Regions from separate parts of the Homo sapiens genome. Here region 1 is linked to region 2. The links are contacts of gene promoters, found by promoter capture Hi-C in human tissues and cell types (Jung and others, 2019). All regions are on one chromosome and are shown on one strand. The core of a region is centred on a gene start or on the middle of the fragment in contact, and the rest is flanking DNA. Distances in the headings are between cores, read along the strand shown. Region 1 holds the start of ZNF513 (zinc finger protein 513). Region 2 holds the start of UCN (urocortin).

What was found. The method cuts DNA at HindIII sites, captures the fragments that hold promoters and counts their contacts. A contact is called where the count stands out against the background at its distance.
Region 1: the fragment with the promoter of ZNF513 here is called in contact with the fragment with the promoter of UCN in region 2 in 1 of the 25 tissues and cell types used here (adrenal gland).

What each region holds. Positions count from the first base shown.
Region 1 is chr2:27,376,002-27,382,846 of GRCh38, forward strand. It overlaps ZNF513 (zinc finger protein 513), which reads right to left and starts at 4,733. Exons shown (of 4, transcript NM_144631.6): 1 at 4,471-4,733; 2 at 4,092-4,247; 3 at 2,466-3,053; 4 at 1,234-2,370. The coding sequence starts at 4,525. The coding sequence ends at 1,544. PPM1G (protein phosphatase, Mg2+/Mn2+ dependent 1G) reads right to left here. Exons shown (of 10, transcript NM_177983.3): 8 at 6,475-6,604; 9 at 6,125-6,227; 10 at 5,198-5,804. The coding sequence ends at 5,598. It overlaps SNX17 (sorting nexin 17), which reads left to right. Exons shown (of 15, transcript NM_014748.4): 12 at 105-182; 13 at 312-386; 14 at 478-519; 15 at 605-1,534. The coding sequence ends at 718. RefSeq lists enhancers at 1,701-1,860, 2,475-3,345 and a silencer at 4,486-4,705. The HindIII fragment of the contact is 10,400 bases long and covers 1-6,845 here.
Region 2 is chr2:27,303,010-27,310,072 of GRCh38, forward strand. UCN (urocortin) reads right to left here and starts at 5,436. Exons shown (of 2, transcript NM_003353.4): 1 at 5,151-5,436; 2 at 4,391-4,899. The coding sequence starts at 4,886. The coding sequence ends at 4,512. TRIM54 (tripartite motif containing 54) reads left to right here. Exons shown (of 9, transcript NM_187841.3): 4 at 1,950-2,045; 5 at 2,575-2,808; 6 at 3,071-3,093; 7 at 3,204-3,328; 8 at 3,447-3,533; 9 at 3,878-4,426. The coding sequence ends at 3,532. MPV17 (mitochondrial inner membrane protein MPV17) reads right to left here. Exons shown (of 8, transcript NM_002437.5): 8 at 6,483-6,972. The coding sequence ends at 6,903. The HindIII fragment of the contact is 27,300 bases long and covers 1-7,063 here.

The sequences.
Region 1 (6,845 bases), core at 3,483-5,982, 72 kb after region 2:
GCACCTTAAAGTGTAGAGTTTCCAGTACTCAATATGGGAGGCATTAGTGGTGCTGGGCTCAGAGTGACCACTCTCATCAAGCTGGACACTCTTCTTGCCCTCAGGCTATCATGATGAGCATCTGCTTGCAGTCCATGGTTGATGAACTGATGGTGAAGAAATCTGGCGGCAGTATCAGGAAGGTAGGCAGCAAGTGTGGACTGAGCAGTGAGCAGGTGTGCTCCCCTTGCCTTTTGTCCTAGATGTGAGGCTTGTCTTGAGAGGGAGGGGAAGTGATCCTGCCCTCACCGGCACCTTGTGTCTGTCCCCAGATGCTGCGCCGGCGGGTGGGGGGTACTCTGAGACGCTCAGACAGCCAGCAAGCAGTGAAGTCCCCACCACTGCTTGTAAGTATTACCTCCTGGTCAGAACCCTGGCTCTCAGCCCTGCCTCACCTCTCCTAGTGAGTTTCTGACACCTCTGCCTCTTCTTCCCCAGGAGTCACCTGATGCCACCCGGGAGTCTATGGTCAAACTCTCAGTGAGTTCCAGCGTTGGTGAGGTTGCTGTTTGTTGGGGGATCTTGCACGCCCAAGATCTCTGACCCCACCCTGCCTTTGTTACAGAGTAAGCTGAGTGCCGTGAGCTTGCGGGGAATTGGCAGTCCCAGCACAGATGCCAGTGCCAGTGATGTCCACGGCAATTTCGCCTTCGAGGGCATTGGAGATGAGGATCTGTAATCTCCACTGCTTGGATGTCTGCCCTCTACCCCAGAGGAATTTACAGAAACTTGCCCTGTGCCTGTGTCCCCCATGCTAGGGGCGGAGGGGTCTTTTCCTTCTTCTTTCCTACCTACCCCTTTTCTCTTGGCCAGGGGCCTCGTATCCTACCTTTCCTTGTCCCCTGGGCTGGCTGCACAGAGGATTGCCCCTTCTCTTTTCAGAGCTGGCCCTCGATGCCAAATTAGCATTTAGTATTTTGCACAAAGTCTAAGGGACCATGGCTGCCTGCCTTGGGGAGGAACCATATCTCCCTCTGGGCCGCTTCTGGCCTCTTGGAGCCATGGGCCAAAGGCCAAGGGGATGGGCAGAGGTCTGTGTTTGGTCTGGCCCAGTTCCCCATCATTAAACTCAGCCTGACTGCTGCCTACCTCTGGTTCCCTCTCACTGCCCCTGCTTCCCCCATCACAGCATGGACTACTATGCTAAGGGTAAGGCCAAATTGCCTGCCATTGCCAATTCAGCATAGACATGGCTTTGTTAGTGTTTCCTTTATTATAAAGCACTGAAATAAGTTAAATAAACAGGTGGGAGGCTGGGCAGTCCCCCAGCCGGTTTGTCCACAGCCCCTGGGGGCAGTGGAGGTGAATACAGGGCCCTTCTCACTGAGCTCGTGAAGTGCCTCAGTCAAGGCAAGGTCCCCTGGTCCATATGGGCCCCCCCGCCCATGGGGTTGGGCTGGTCCTTATAGTGCCTACGTTAGTCTGTGTGGAGCCCCTGGCCAGCGGGGGAGAAAAAGGTGGCTTCTGGTCCGTCTGTATAAAACATGGGGAAGAAGGACCTAGTTCAGGATGAGTCTGTGTGGACAGCCCGGCTGCCAGCAGTCCCCAGGGCTGGTGGGCCCCGAGAGCTCAAAACAGAGGGTGGGCTATGAGGTGGGGCCCAGCCCTCAGAGGCAGAGAGACCAGGCCCTCCTGCCCCACCGTGGCCATGCACCTTCTGGTGGCGCTTGTAGTTGTCCCAGTGGCCCGTGGTATAGGCGCAGGTGGCACAGCGGAAGGGCTTCTCGCCTGTGTGCCGCAGCATGTGACGTTTGAGGTTCATGCTCTGGTTGCAGCTGTAGTTGCAAAGGCTACACCGAAAAGGTTTGTCACCAGAGTGGATGCGACCATGACGCTTGAGGTTGGCCAGATTGCCACAGGCATAAGGGCAGAGGGGGCACTTGTAGGGCTTCTCTCCTGTATGGACGCGCTGGTGCCGTTTCAGGTTATCCAGATGAGCAGAGGCATAAGGACAGCGGGCGCAGCGGAAGGGCTTCTCACCACTGTGTGTCTTCATGTGCCGGGCCAGGTGGTTGGGATAGTGAGTGGCAAAGGGGCAGAGGCTACAGGCAAAGCCTTTGTCACTGGGGCCCTGGGGCCCCCCACTGGCACCCCCTCCAGCCTCTCCTCGCATGCAGCGCCCACACATGGCAGCTCCCAGCCGACTACCCTCACCCTCCTCCAGCTCTTGTCCACAGCCCCGGCAGGTCCAAGGGAATAGCAGCTCTGGCAGTGGTTCTGATCCAGTCCCGCAGAGGCCCTCCCCTTCACCCCGCAGCTGCCCACAGTCTGGCAGGAAACTGGCACCACCTGGTGGCACATGGAGGCTCAAATCTGGAAGGAGCAGAGCATCTGTGGGGACAAAGACCTGGGCTATGAATCCAATCCAAGCATTCCTAGGGTCAGCCACCCATGTCCCAAGATCTTTGGTCCCTGGTGTGTCTTACCTTCAGGTCGCCGGGGCACCGCCCCCTCCTGCTCTGTGGGACTGGGAGGCCGGGCTGGTCGTGGAGTACAGCAGCGGAAGCCACAGGTCGGGCAGGGAGGAGTGGGGGGCCCTGCGTGGGTACGCTGATGCCGCCTCAGGTTGCCCAGGCTGCTGCAGGCAAAGGGGCAGTGGGGACAGCGGTAGGGCTTCTCGCCAGTGTGGGTGCGGGTATGTCGTGTCAGGTTGACGAGCTGGGCTGAGGCGTAGGGGCAGCGGCCACAGCGGAACGGCTTCTCTCCGCTGTGTGTCTGCATGTGCCGCTTCAGGTGGCTCGAGTAGTGGGACACGAAGGTGCAGAGGCGGCATGAGTACAGTAGCCGTGGGGGCAGCAGGGGCCCCCCACCCGGCCCTCCTGCCCCACAACACGGCCCCTCACCTGTCGGCCCCCCACACAGCTGGCAGGCTGGGCCTGGCCTCTCACCCCTGGCCTCCCCTGGACCCCTGGCTGGCTCCTCAACTTCACTCTCCGCACTTAGTGCCCGGCCGCCCCCAGACTCATCGTCGCTCAGCCCATAGGGAAGCCCAGGCCTGGCCCCCAGAGAGTCTCCTGGTGAAATAGACATAAGAAGAGACATCAGCATAGGGTAGGATCAGGCTCCAAACTCTCCCCTTTTCACTTATGGTCTCCCCACTTGCTTGGCTCCACCCTTAGCTTTGATGATCCCTTTAGTTCCCTCCTAGGAATCAAGGTCTCCCCTGCAGTAATTCCAGAAAATTCAACATGAATTGTCTACCTCTTACACTGGACTAATCTAGTGATGGTAGAATTGACCTGTATCTAGTTTCCCTCAATGGTCAAGGATCAAGGGCTCACAGTGGATCACAGACTGAAATGAATCCATAATGAAATTAATTCTTGAGACAAGAAAGTAAAAATACGAAAGGGAGAGAGCCCCCAAGACCTTTTTCTAAGCTCTATTGCTAAGGCCCCTTTTAGTAAGGAGCTGATATAAAATAAAACCTATCTCTGAGGCAAAATTTGGAGGGAAGTGGAGACAATGAAAGTAATGCATGTAATACCACTTGCCTGCCTAAAGAACAGATATTTACATGGATCCCCTCAATGACTTTCAAAAAACATCTTGCATAAGTGGATGGGTAGTGCAGCAAATTAGGGTAGGGTGATGCTAAGATCACAGGGAAGAGGGACATGGAAGGATAAAGACAGAAACTAAAACCTCTCAATACAAAAGGAGCTTACGCTGCAGGTGAAAGGGAGTTAGATTAGACCTAAATACTGGGTTGAATGATTTACAGAGAGTTTGCTTCCCTGAACCTCTCTTAAAAGTAAATACACATAAGGAATGGGCTAGGGAGAGAGACAGGGCATTTACTTTTAATCAGTTGCTCCATGTGATTCACCCACCCTCCTATTCCTATCACCTTTGACCAGGCCTCAGAACTTCACCTCAACAAAGTGATGGAAGTGATTGGACCATTAAACAAATGAAGTCATCTAGCTCAAATGTAAACTAAACCAGCCCTCGGTTGTGGCAGGAAATGGTGTTCTGTTCACCTAACCTGCCTCCTGAAGGGCTGGGGTCTCCAGCGGCCGCTAATCCTTAACCAAGACCCGAAAACCCACCTTCCGAGTCTCTCTCGAAGCCCATGAGCTGGTCACTGTTGCCGTCGCCTTCCTCCTCTTCCTCTTCCTCCTCAAACTCCAGATCCTGGCCTAGTAGCAAATCACTCTCCAATACCAGGGCCCCGGGTCCTTCGTCGAGGGAGTCTTCAGTATCCACTGAAGAGGGGAGGGGGCTTGTGGATTCTCCCTCAGGAACCAGCCCTCGTGGACCACACTTCCCGTACTCGCTGACCCACTCTGATTCCCTTAGTGCCTCGGTGGGAAGCTAGGAGTCTGGATCGCCCACTTCATCCCTCAGGAGTCCCCCTCCACCCTGACCTGAGCCCACTCCACTGACCCCACCCCCGCTCCTCTCCCCTCAAGGCCCCTGACCCCTGACCTTTGACCCCCTCGCATTTCACGGGCTGCGGGTGGCTTTGCTTCCTTCGGGGCATCGTGACCGGCTCCAGCCCGACGCGCCTCCGGCCTGCGGCCGCCCGACCCCGCCCCTCCTATCTCGGCCCGCCTGTCTGCCCTTCCTCTCAGGGCCCGCGGGCCGCCCCCATGCAGCGGCGCGGGCCCTGGGCAGCCCCCGGCCCTGGCCCCGGCGCCCAGCTCAGGCCGCTCCCGCCGCCGCCGCCGCTTCCATTCATGGAGCCCCCTACCCCCCTACGGAGACCAGCTGGTACCTCCGTACTCGCTTCCGCTTCCGCCGCCGCAGAGACGCACGGGACGCGTAGTCCGTGGGAAGCGGCCGCGGCGGGAGCCTCAATGGCGTGACCGGGAAGTGATTGTGACGAGGCGGGGAGCAAGCCAATCAGCGGCAGCGGGGAGCCGGCCAGGGAGCAGCGCAGGAGGCGTCCTGCCCGACTCCAGGCTTCAGGCCAGCCAGACCGGTCCCAACCTGTCCCTGGGGGAACTAGATCATTTCTGGCTGCAGGAGGGGGCGAGGGGCAGCCGCGACGCCCGCCAGGCCGGCCTACCAGCAGCTCGCTCTGGGCTCTCCTATACACGCGCAGGACACACACGAGCACACGCACACACTCACATGGGGGCTCGCCACATGCTACAGATGGGACCAAGTCGGGGGCCACGGCAGCAGAAAAAAAAGGACACGATGCGTACGATTAGGTTTTGGCCTTTAGTCTGAAAAAGTGTTGATTGAAAGTGTACAACAGAGAGCGGGTGCAAGCGGCCGAGGGCCATGGAGCCGCCAATAAAAAAGAATGTCCTTAAATAAAGTTCACAGAGTAAAAACCAGAACCGCCAGTCCTTCCCTCCAACACAACAGAGCACAGGCACAGAACCGGTGATGAGCCCGAGGAGCAGAGGCGGCTGGGAAGGACAGCAGAGGCTCCCGGCTGCAGTGTGGAGGGAGAGCCCTCTTTGGAATGGGCGGAGTGAAGCCACCCAGCTCCCCCTGCACACCTCATACCCACTGCTAAGGCTAAAGGAAAAAGACAAAACTCAGTCTCAGGTCCGGAGGGCTCAGAAAACAGTCTAGGTGGGCAGGGGTCTGGATGACTGCTAGTCTCGCTTGGCCTTCTTCTTCTTGTCGCTGTTGCCATTTTCTTCAGCCCCCTCAGTAGAGAGCACCTCCTCTAGTTTTCGCTTGCCACTCTCTGGCTGGAGCTCTGCTGTGTTTCGGGGCTTGAAGCAAATGATGATGCAGGTCATGTTGTCACACCCTGTACCATCCCCAGAAGTGTCTGGTGCCAGGCACTGATCCAGCAGCTAAGAAAGGGATGGGGGTAGCTCAGCCACAGGGTTTGAACACCTTGCCAGGAATCTACAGTCCCACAAGAGGGCTGGCTTGCTGAGTCAGGGTGGTAGGAGAGGAATGGGCAAGAGGTATCACACAACGGCCCACCTGCTAGTCCATAAGGCATAAGGCTAAGTCAGGGAAATGACAGAAGGTGGAACTTTGGAGTCGGGGTTTAGCGTCTGTCAGCAATTACTGATAATGCTCCCAGATTGCCGACTTAGCTCAGATTAAAAGAGTGAACCCTGGCTGTGCAGACCAGACACCCTCTCTTCTCCACCCTGGTACTCACCTCTTCCACAATGGATGACAATAACCGAAGCTCCCCATTTTCATCACGCTGGCTGATCTTTGATTGAATGAAATCTACAACTTCCTGGCTGCTCATCACATTCCTGGGGTCAAGAACAACAGTCAGAATCTTCCAGTCTCACTAAGGCAGCGTAGAGGAGTATGGACAGAGGTGGTGGCCCAGGCCAGTGTAAATAACTACAGAAATTCTCAGCTCTGCCTTAGTCTGGGTGCTCTTCACCCACCAAGAGGCCTAGGTCTGCCTAGGCTCTAATCCTAGAGGTGCCCTGAGTCCTATAAGAGAAGACATGCTGCAGAAAGGGGAATTTAGGGCATTCTGCCAGTGCTCACCAGATGCCATCACAGGCAATGACCATGAATTCATGGTCGTCAGTGAGAGTCAGCACCTTGATGTCAGGAAGGGCTGAAATCATCTGTTCCTCAGGTGGCAGGTTCTTGTTTCTCTTATAGAAGTGGTCCCCTGGAGTAAAGGAATGGTTGATGAGCAGTTTGGATACTTCCCACAGACTTGTGTTTGTGGCAGGTCAAACCTTGCCATTCATTTCCCTTCTTTACAAAGTTCCATAATCTAGTGGAATGGGGAACTGAGTCCTAAGTCCTAGTTTTTCTAGTTTCAACCCTGCCACCAGACTGCTGAACCTTAAGAAAGTCACTCACTGGTCTTTTTATTTTAAGTCTTTTTTGTTTTTTTTTTTTTGAGA
Region 2 (7,063 bases), core at 4,186-6,685:
TCCTCTCTATCACACAACTAGATTCTGTGTAAAACAGAATTTTCAAATTATATTGCTTGGTACATAGAAGCAAAGGAAATCAGTGGGGGTGGGGAGGGGCGAAGAGAAAAGGCGGAGCTGAAAGCAGAACCCTGAGTGGCAAGCACAGAAAAGGCAGCATTTCGCAGAGGACCAGTGCTGGCAATGTCACTGAGCTAGAGAGACCAGACTATTCCTCCAAACCCCTAAAAGGAGGGGTACCTGCAGCTAAGATTCCAGAGACCCGGCTGGGCGCAGTGGCTCACGCCTGTAATCTCAACACTTTGGGAGGCCGAGGCGGGCGGATCACTAGGTCAGGAGTTTGAGACCTGGCCAACATGGTGAAATCCCGTCTCTACTAAAGATACAAAAAATTAGCCGGGCGTGGTTGCAGGCCCTGTAATCCCAGCTACTCGGGAAGCTGAGGCAGGAGAATCGCTTGAACCCAGGAGGCGGAGGTTGCAGTGAGCTGAGATCACGTCATTGCACTCCAGCCTGGGCAACAGGGAGAGACTCCGTCTAAAAAAAAAAAAAAGTTTCCGGAGACCGTAGGTTAAACTAGGATCCTAGGAGCTAAAGCAGTAAATTGCGCCACCTGGCTTTCAACAGAGGCAAATGCAAATACTGCCTAGAGGAAAATATGCACAATTTAGGCCCGTAGGTATTCCCTAGATTAATTAATATCAATAAAATATTAGATCACAATTGAAGGTGCACAGAGAAACGTAATCCATGAGTGAAGTCAGCAGAAACAAAAAATACAGATTTAGGACCCCCCACAAAAGCAACTGAGATATTGGAATTATTAAATAATTGGAAGTCACTATAAATCAAATGCTTTTTAAAAAAAGATGAAAAATTTTAAAAACCAAACAATAATAGAATATCAAAAACCAACCATGTAGCTGGGTGTGGTGGCTCACGCCGGTAATCCCGACACTTTGGGAGGCTGAGGTGGGAGGATCACTTGAGTCCAGGAGTTGGAGACCAACCTGGGGAAATGTTGAAACCCCGTCTACAAAAAAATATAAAAAATTAGCCGGACGTGGTGTCATGCGCCTGTAGTCCCAGCTACCTGGGAGGCTGAGGTGGGAGGATCACCTGAGCCTGGAAGGTCGAGGCTGCAGTGAACTGAGATCGAGCCACTGCACTCCAGCCTTGGTGACAGAGTGAGACCTTGTCTCAAATATATATATATAGATAGATAGATAGATAGATAGATATAGATATACAGATATATATATATATATAGATAGATAGATATAAAACATTCAACAGATGGCTGGGCATGGTGGCTGGAACCTGTAAACCCAGTGACTAGGGAGGCTGAGGCAGGAGGACAAGGCCTGGTGTTCGAGACCAGCCTGGGTGACAGAGCAAGACTCCGTCTCAAAAAAAATTTAAAAAAAAATCAACGAATGAATTGAATGATAGATTTGTCTGAAAACAGAACTAGTGACCAGTATGAGAGGACTGAAAGAAAAACAGAACGTGCAGTTCTGGGAGATGATGAGAAGGCTGAGAGTGAGAAGGTCTAACAGGTCTAATCAGATTCCCAGAATGAGAGGATAAAGAGAATAGAGAAGAGGCAATATTATGCCAATGGATAATCTTGAAGACTTTCTCAGAATCGATGCAAGAAATGAATCTACAGATAAAGTATCTAGCCCAGTGTCTGGTATCTGGTGGATGTTTGGAGACTGTCTGTTCCTTCCCCACTTAGTGGTGGAGGGCTTCTCTCCACCTCCTTCCAGAATCACTAGAATGTGCTTCCGTACCTCTTGATGGTTCAAGCCTTCTAGATTGCTGTAGATGCCCTTATGGGGGGTGAGGTGGAAGGGCCAGCCCTCTCCTAGGCAACCCTGGCTGGGGTGAGGGGTGTAGCTCTAGGCCAGGTCCCAGCTCTGAGTGCTGACCTGTGTGTGTATCAGAGTGAGCTCAGCGATGGCATCGCGATGCTGGTGGCAGGCAATGACCGCGTGCAAGCAGTGATCACACAGATGGAGGAGGTGTGCCAGACTATCGAGGTGAGCCTGGGCTGGAGGGAGGGAGGAACAGCAACTGGCTAGCCTGCGGACCCCGGGCTCCCAAGAGAACTGCTCCTCTCTGACCTCTCGCCAAACTGGTCTGAAAGTTTCTGGGGTCCTGGGAGTGGTGGGAGGTGCTTTTGCCAGGCTGCTGGGTGTGCATTCCAGCTTTGCCGCAAAACTTTAATCCAGTTATTTAACTTCTCTGTGCTTTGGTTTTGTTTAACCTCATAAAACAGTGATGATGATAATGATACACCAGCTACCTCATGGGTTCTTTTTGAGAATTAAATGGAATAATGCAAATAAAAACCAGGGCTAGGGATATAGACAGCAATCAGTGAAGCTACTTTAAAGCATTGTGTTTTTATTATGGAAAAGATCTGGGCTGGGTTCTGGCTCAGCCACTAACTCACAGTGTCACTACGGATGGGTCACTTTCTGTGTTGGTTCTCTGTGAGTACCCTGTGCTTTCCCAGCCACCGGGTCTCAGCCACGCCTTCCCTCATCCTTGCTCCCCATCTTTTAGGACAATAGCCGGAGGCAGAAGCAGTTGTTAAACCAGAGGTTTGAGAGCCTGTGCGCAGTGCTGGAGGAGCGCAAGGGTGAGCTGCTGCAGGCGCTGGCCCGGGAGCAAGAGGAGAAGCTGCAGCGCGTCCGCGGCCTCATCCGTCAGTATGGCGACCACCTGGAGGCCTCCTCTAAGCTGGTGGAGTCTGCCATCCAGTCCATGGAAGAGCCACAAATGGCGCTGTATCTCCAGGTGGGCTCTAGGGGAGGGTGGCAGCGCTGCACAGTGGCTGGAGTCAGGGCCTTGGTACCTGGAGTCCCGGGTTCAAGTCTTGTCTCTTGCACCTGCTTGCCCCTACGACCTTGGGCAAGTCACCCCCTCTGAGTTCGTTTTCTGCTTAACGAATTGGGACGTGCCTTCCCACCTACCCCGCAGGACTGTGGTGAGATTCAGAAATGGGACTTTGCCCAGGTTGGCCCAGTGCTTACTCTCACCCTCCTTTTCTTCCCTGCAGCAGGCCAAGGAGCTGATCAATAAGTGAGTAGGCATAGCGGGAAGGGAAAGGAGGGGGCTGCACTGCTCCACTGGCTGGGGTGGGGCTTGAGAGTGCTGGGGCATTGCCAGCTGAGTCCGTGTGGCCACTGCAGGGTCGGGGCCATGTCGAAGGTGGAGCTGGCAGGGCGGCCGGAGCCAGGCTATGAGAGCATGGAGCAATTCACCGTAAGGGTGGAGCACGTGGCCGAAATGCTGCGGACCATCGACTTCCAGCCAGGTGAAGGAGGTGGCCGAGGGCCGCTGAGACGGGTTCGGACCCTCTGTGTGGGGGGTGCGGCGGGCACGATGGCCGTAAAGGCAGGGACTCCACCTCACCAGGCCTTCCTTGGGCTCAGGCGCTTCCGGGGAGGAAGAGGAGGTGGCCCCAGACGGAGAGGAGGGCAGCGCGGGGCCGGAGGAAGAGCGGCCGGATGGGCCTTAAGGTGAGAGCCGCCCGATGGGCCTTAAGGTGAGAGCGGCCTGAGGGGCTTGGGGTGGGGCCTGGCTGGTGTGCTCGCGTCCCCTCCCCCAGTGATTGCCCTCCCTGCGGGTAGCGTGGAGCCCCCACTCCTCGGTGCAACCCAACCCCGGAGCCACAAAGGCGCGCCCCCTAGGGCGGAAAAGTACACTTTCCTCCTCACCCGCTGTTCCTCTGGGGTGCTGGGAGGGCAGGCAAGGCAGGCTGAGTAGAGGAGAAACCCACGTGGCGGGGGACGGAGTGAGCGGGGCTCGAGCTGCCTCGTGCCTTCGCAGCACCCGCCCACCGAGCCTTCTTTCCCGGGCACAGGCCTGCGCCGACCCGACCCTGCTCGAGAGCCCGCGCTAGAGTCGGGGAGGATCTGCGCAGAGACCGCAGCATCACCCAAATCGGCGCCGGCCCCGGGAGGATCTCAATAAAGAACTCGAGCGTCCCAGACCCGTATCTCCTTTCGCTGCCCAACCCCGCAGCCTGGGCTTCGAAGGCGACCCGCCCACCATCCTGCCCTTCCCAGAACCTGAGACCGTCTGGGGGGCGGAAGCCAAATGAACCCCTATTGGGCACCTCTGTGATGCCAGGAGCGAACTGGTGAGCCCAGCGCCCTGGGAAGAGGGCCGAGGGCGGGGCGGTGGTGCCGGGACCTCTGAGGTCCTGGGGATTTGGGGACCCTTGGGGTCCACATGCACCTGGCTGACCTGGCTGAAAGCCGCTGTCTCGGAGCCCCCCACAGCATTTTGTTCCCCTCCCGCTGGCCCGGGGGCCCCACCTTCCCACGGGTTCCCACGCTGCTGTGACTGCCCTGCCTCTACGACAAAAGCCAACGGGTCTTCAGTACTTTTATTAAAAAATAGTCACGCAGACAGTGCCCTGGTGGCTCTGCCCCGCATCCCAACTCTGGGGTGGGGGAAAGGGGTCAACGTTTTCGCAGCCCCAAACCGGGCCATCACTTGCCCACCGAGTCGAATATGATGCGGTTCTGCTCGGCGCGCTCCCGCTGGCTCTGCGTCCGCGCCAGCTCCAGCAGGGTCCGCAGCAGGTGAAAGGTGAGGTCAATGGACAGAGAAGGGTTGTCCCGCCGCGGCCGCTCGCCTGCCGTCCCGAGTCCCAATCGGCCGGGCCCCGCGCGGCGCGGGAAGCGCTCCGCCAGCAGCAAGAGGAGCGCGCGGGCCCCGCCACCCTGGTTCCGTGCCCCGGGGCTCCAGCGCAGACTCGGGTCCTGGACCCCGGCCGCCTCGGGGCTCCTCTGGCTGCTCCCAGGGCACAGCTGTACCAGGAGCAGCAGCGCGGCCAGCAGCGCTGCGCGTCCCGCCTGCCTCATGGTGCCGCCGGCCCTGGACACACAGGGGCAGCGCAGGGTGAGGTGCGCCTGGGACAGCTGCAGGCCGCCGCTCCCCTCCCCGCGCTCGCCCGGCGACCCCTCCGGCCGCCGCCCAATGCCCGCAGCCTGCCCTCCAGCCCCAGCCACTGCGCCAGTGCTGTTCCATCCCTTCCACCCAGCCTCCCTCCCCGGAGGAGCGTGGTGGCTGAGCTGAGCGGAGTCCTGGTGCAGGGGGAGGCTGGGCGGACGCTCTGAGCCACTCACAGGTTGTCGGCGAGCGTCTGTACGGTCCAAGATTGAGCTCCAGTCTCTGTCCCTCGGGGCAGGCTGAAGACGCCTTGGGGAACACAGGGTCTGTCCCGGGGCTGTCGCCAGCCTTATATAGTGCCAGGACAGCTCCGACTGACGTCAGCGAAGAACATGCACTGATTGTAGAAGCAATGACAGCCACAGCTTCGAGTCTGACGGCTGGCGGGCCCCCGGAGGGGCGCACCTCCCTACACCAGCCTTCGTGCCCCTGGGGCTAGCGCTGGAAGCAGCACTGGACGCAGGAAAGCGAGAAGCCGGCTGGGGCGTAAAGACTGCTCTGGGACCCACGGGAGTCCCTCGCCCCGCTTAGAACAGCCAGCAATGACTAGGGCCGTCCCCAGACCAGACTAGTCCGGGTCGCGTGTTCTGACACACGAAAGGGAGGCGGGACCGTGAGGCTGTCCATGGTGCTGACCCCGTCCTCTGCCTCTAGAAGTGGCCAGAAATGTGAGAACGCTGTGCCGCTGGAACCCACTGCCTCCCTGCAGCTATCAGTTCTGCAAATGCAGGCATCAGGAGTCCACCGCTGGCACTCAGCCAACACAGTGGGACCCACTGAGAGGCAGTCTGCCACAACCAAAGTCTCCCAGCATTCTTATCTTTTTCCAGCCCCAGGATCCAAATTGTAGGGCTGTCTGACAGGCACCATGTAACAGAGGGTCTCTAGCATCCGAGTGCTTTCAGACCACAAATGGCTGGCCCATCTGCTTTTGAGTTTGCCAAAGTAGTTTAGCAAAGTTCAGTTTCTCTCCTGGGAATCATAGCAGCAGTGTAACTCTGCCCATGAGCAGCAAAGAAATATGGGTTCAAGTTTCTGCTAACTCCTGGTGTGGACAGGTCACCTCCCTCCTACCAACCTCAGGGTCCTCATTTGTAAGACTGGGCTTGGCCAGGCGCGGTGGCTCACGCCTGTAATCCCAACACTTTGGGAGGCCGAGGCAGGCGGATCACGAGGTCAGTAGTTTGAAACCAGCCTGGCCAATATGGCGAAACCCCATCTCTACTAAAAATACAAAAATTAGCCGGGCGTGGCGGTATGCGCCTGTGGTCCCAGCTACTCAGGAGGCTGAGGCAGGAGAACTGCTTGAACCCAGGAGGCGGAAGCTGCAGTGAGGCAAGATCGCGCCACTGCACTCCAGCCTGGGAGACAGAGCAAGACCCTGTCTCAAAAAAAAAAAAAAAAAAAAAAAAAAAAATTGGGCTTGGTGGTCTCTTGGCTTCTTTCCAGCTCTAGAAATGACTCCCCAATAGTTTTCTGCTTAAAAACTTACTCATTACCACTGCAGATTCCGGATTACATATTTAATAACATATTTACTGAGGCACCATATAAAGGGTTCCGGGAGTCTCTAAAGAGCTGGAGCTACAAGAAGCCTAGGCAGGGTTAGAGTAACAAATGTGTCTATGAAGAGTGGGGATGAGTGGCATTTGCTGGGATATGGGTGTAAAGTTGATAAGGTCATGAAGGTTCAACAGATATTTATGGAGTGCCTAGTATGTGGTGGGAATAAGACTATTATCAAGGGCTCTAAAGCAGTCAGTGTACATTTTAGAGTGAAGAGGGGCATTGCAGGGTGCTAGTCCTCTTAAGCTCTGACCGGCAACCCAACCCCGTGGAAACTGGTATGCCCACTTTGAGGAGGTTGTCTGACCGTTCCAGGGTCAAGCTGCATCACTGCAAGGTGGAAACGATGGAGTGAGGCAGGCTTAGAGCCGATGTGCCTTCCAGGACAGGTAGGAGTTCCAGATAACAGCAACACATTGGACAACGGCCAACCTAAGGAACAGGAATAACACAATGAAGAGGAGGAAGGCTAAGCAGTGAGCAAGGGCTGGAGATGGGAGCATGAAATGGCAAAGGAGGGATC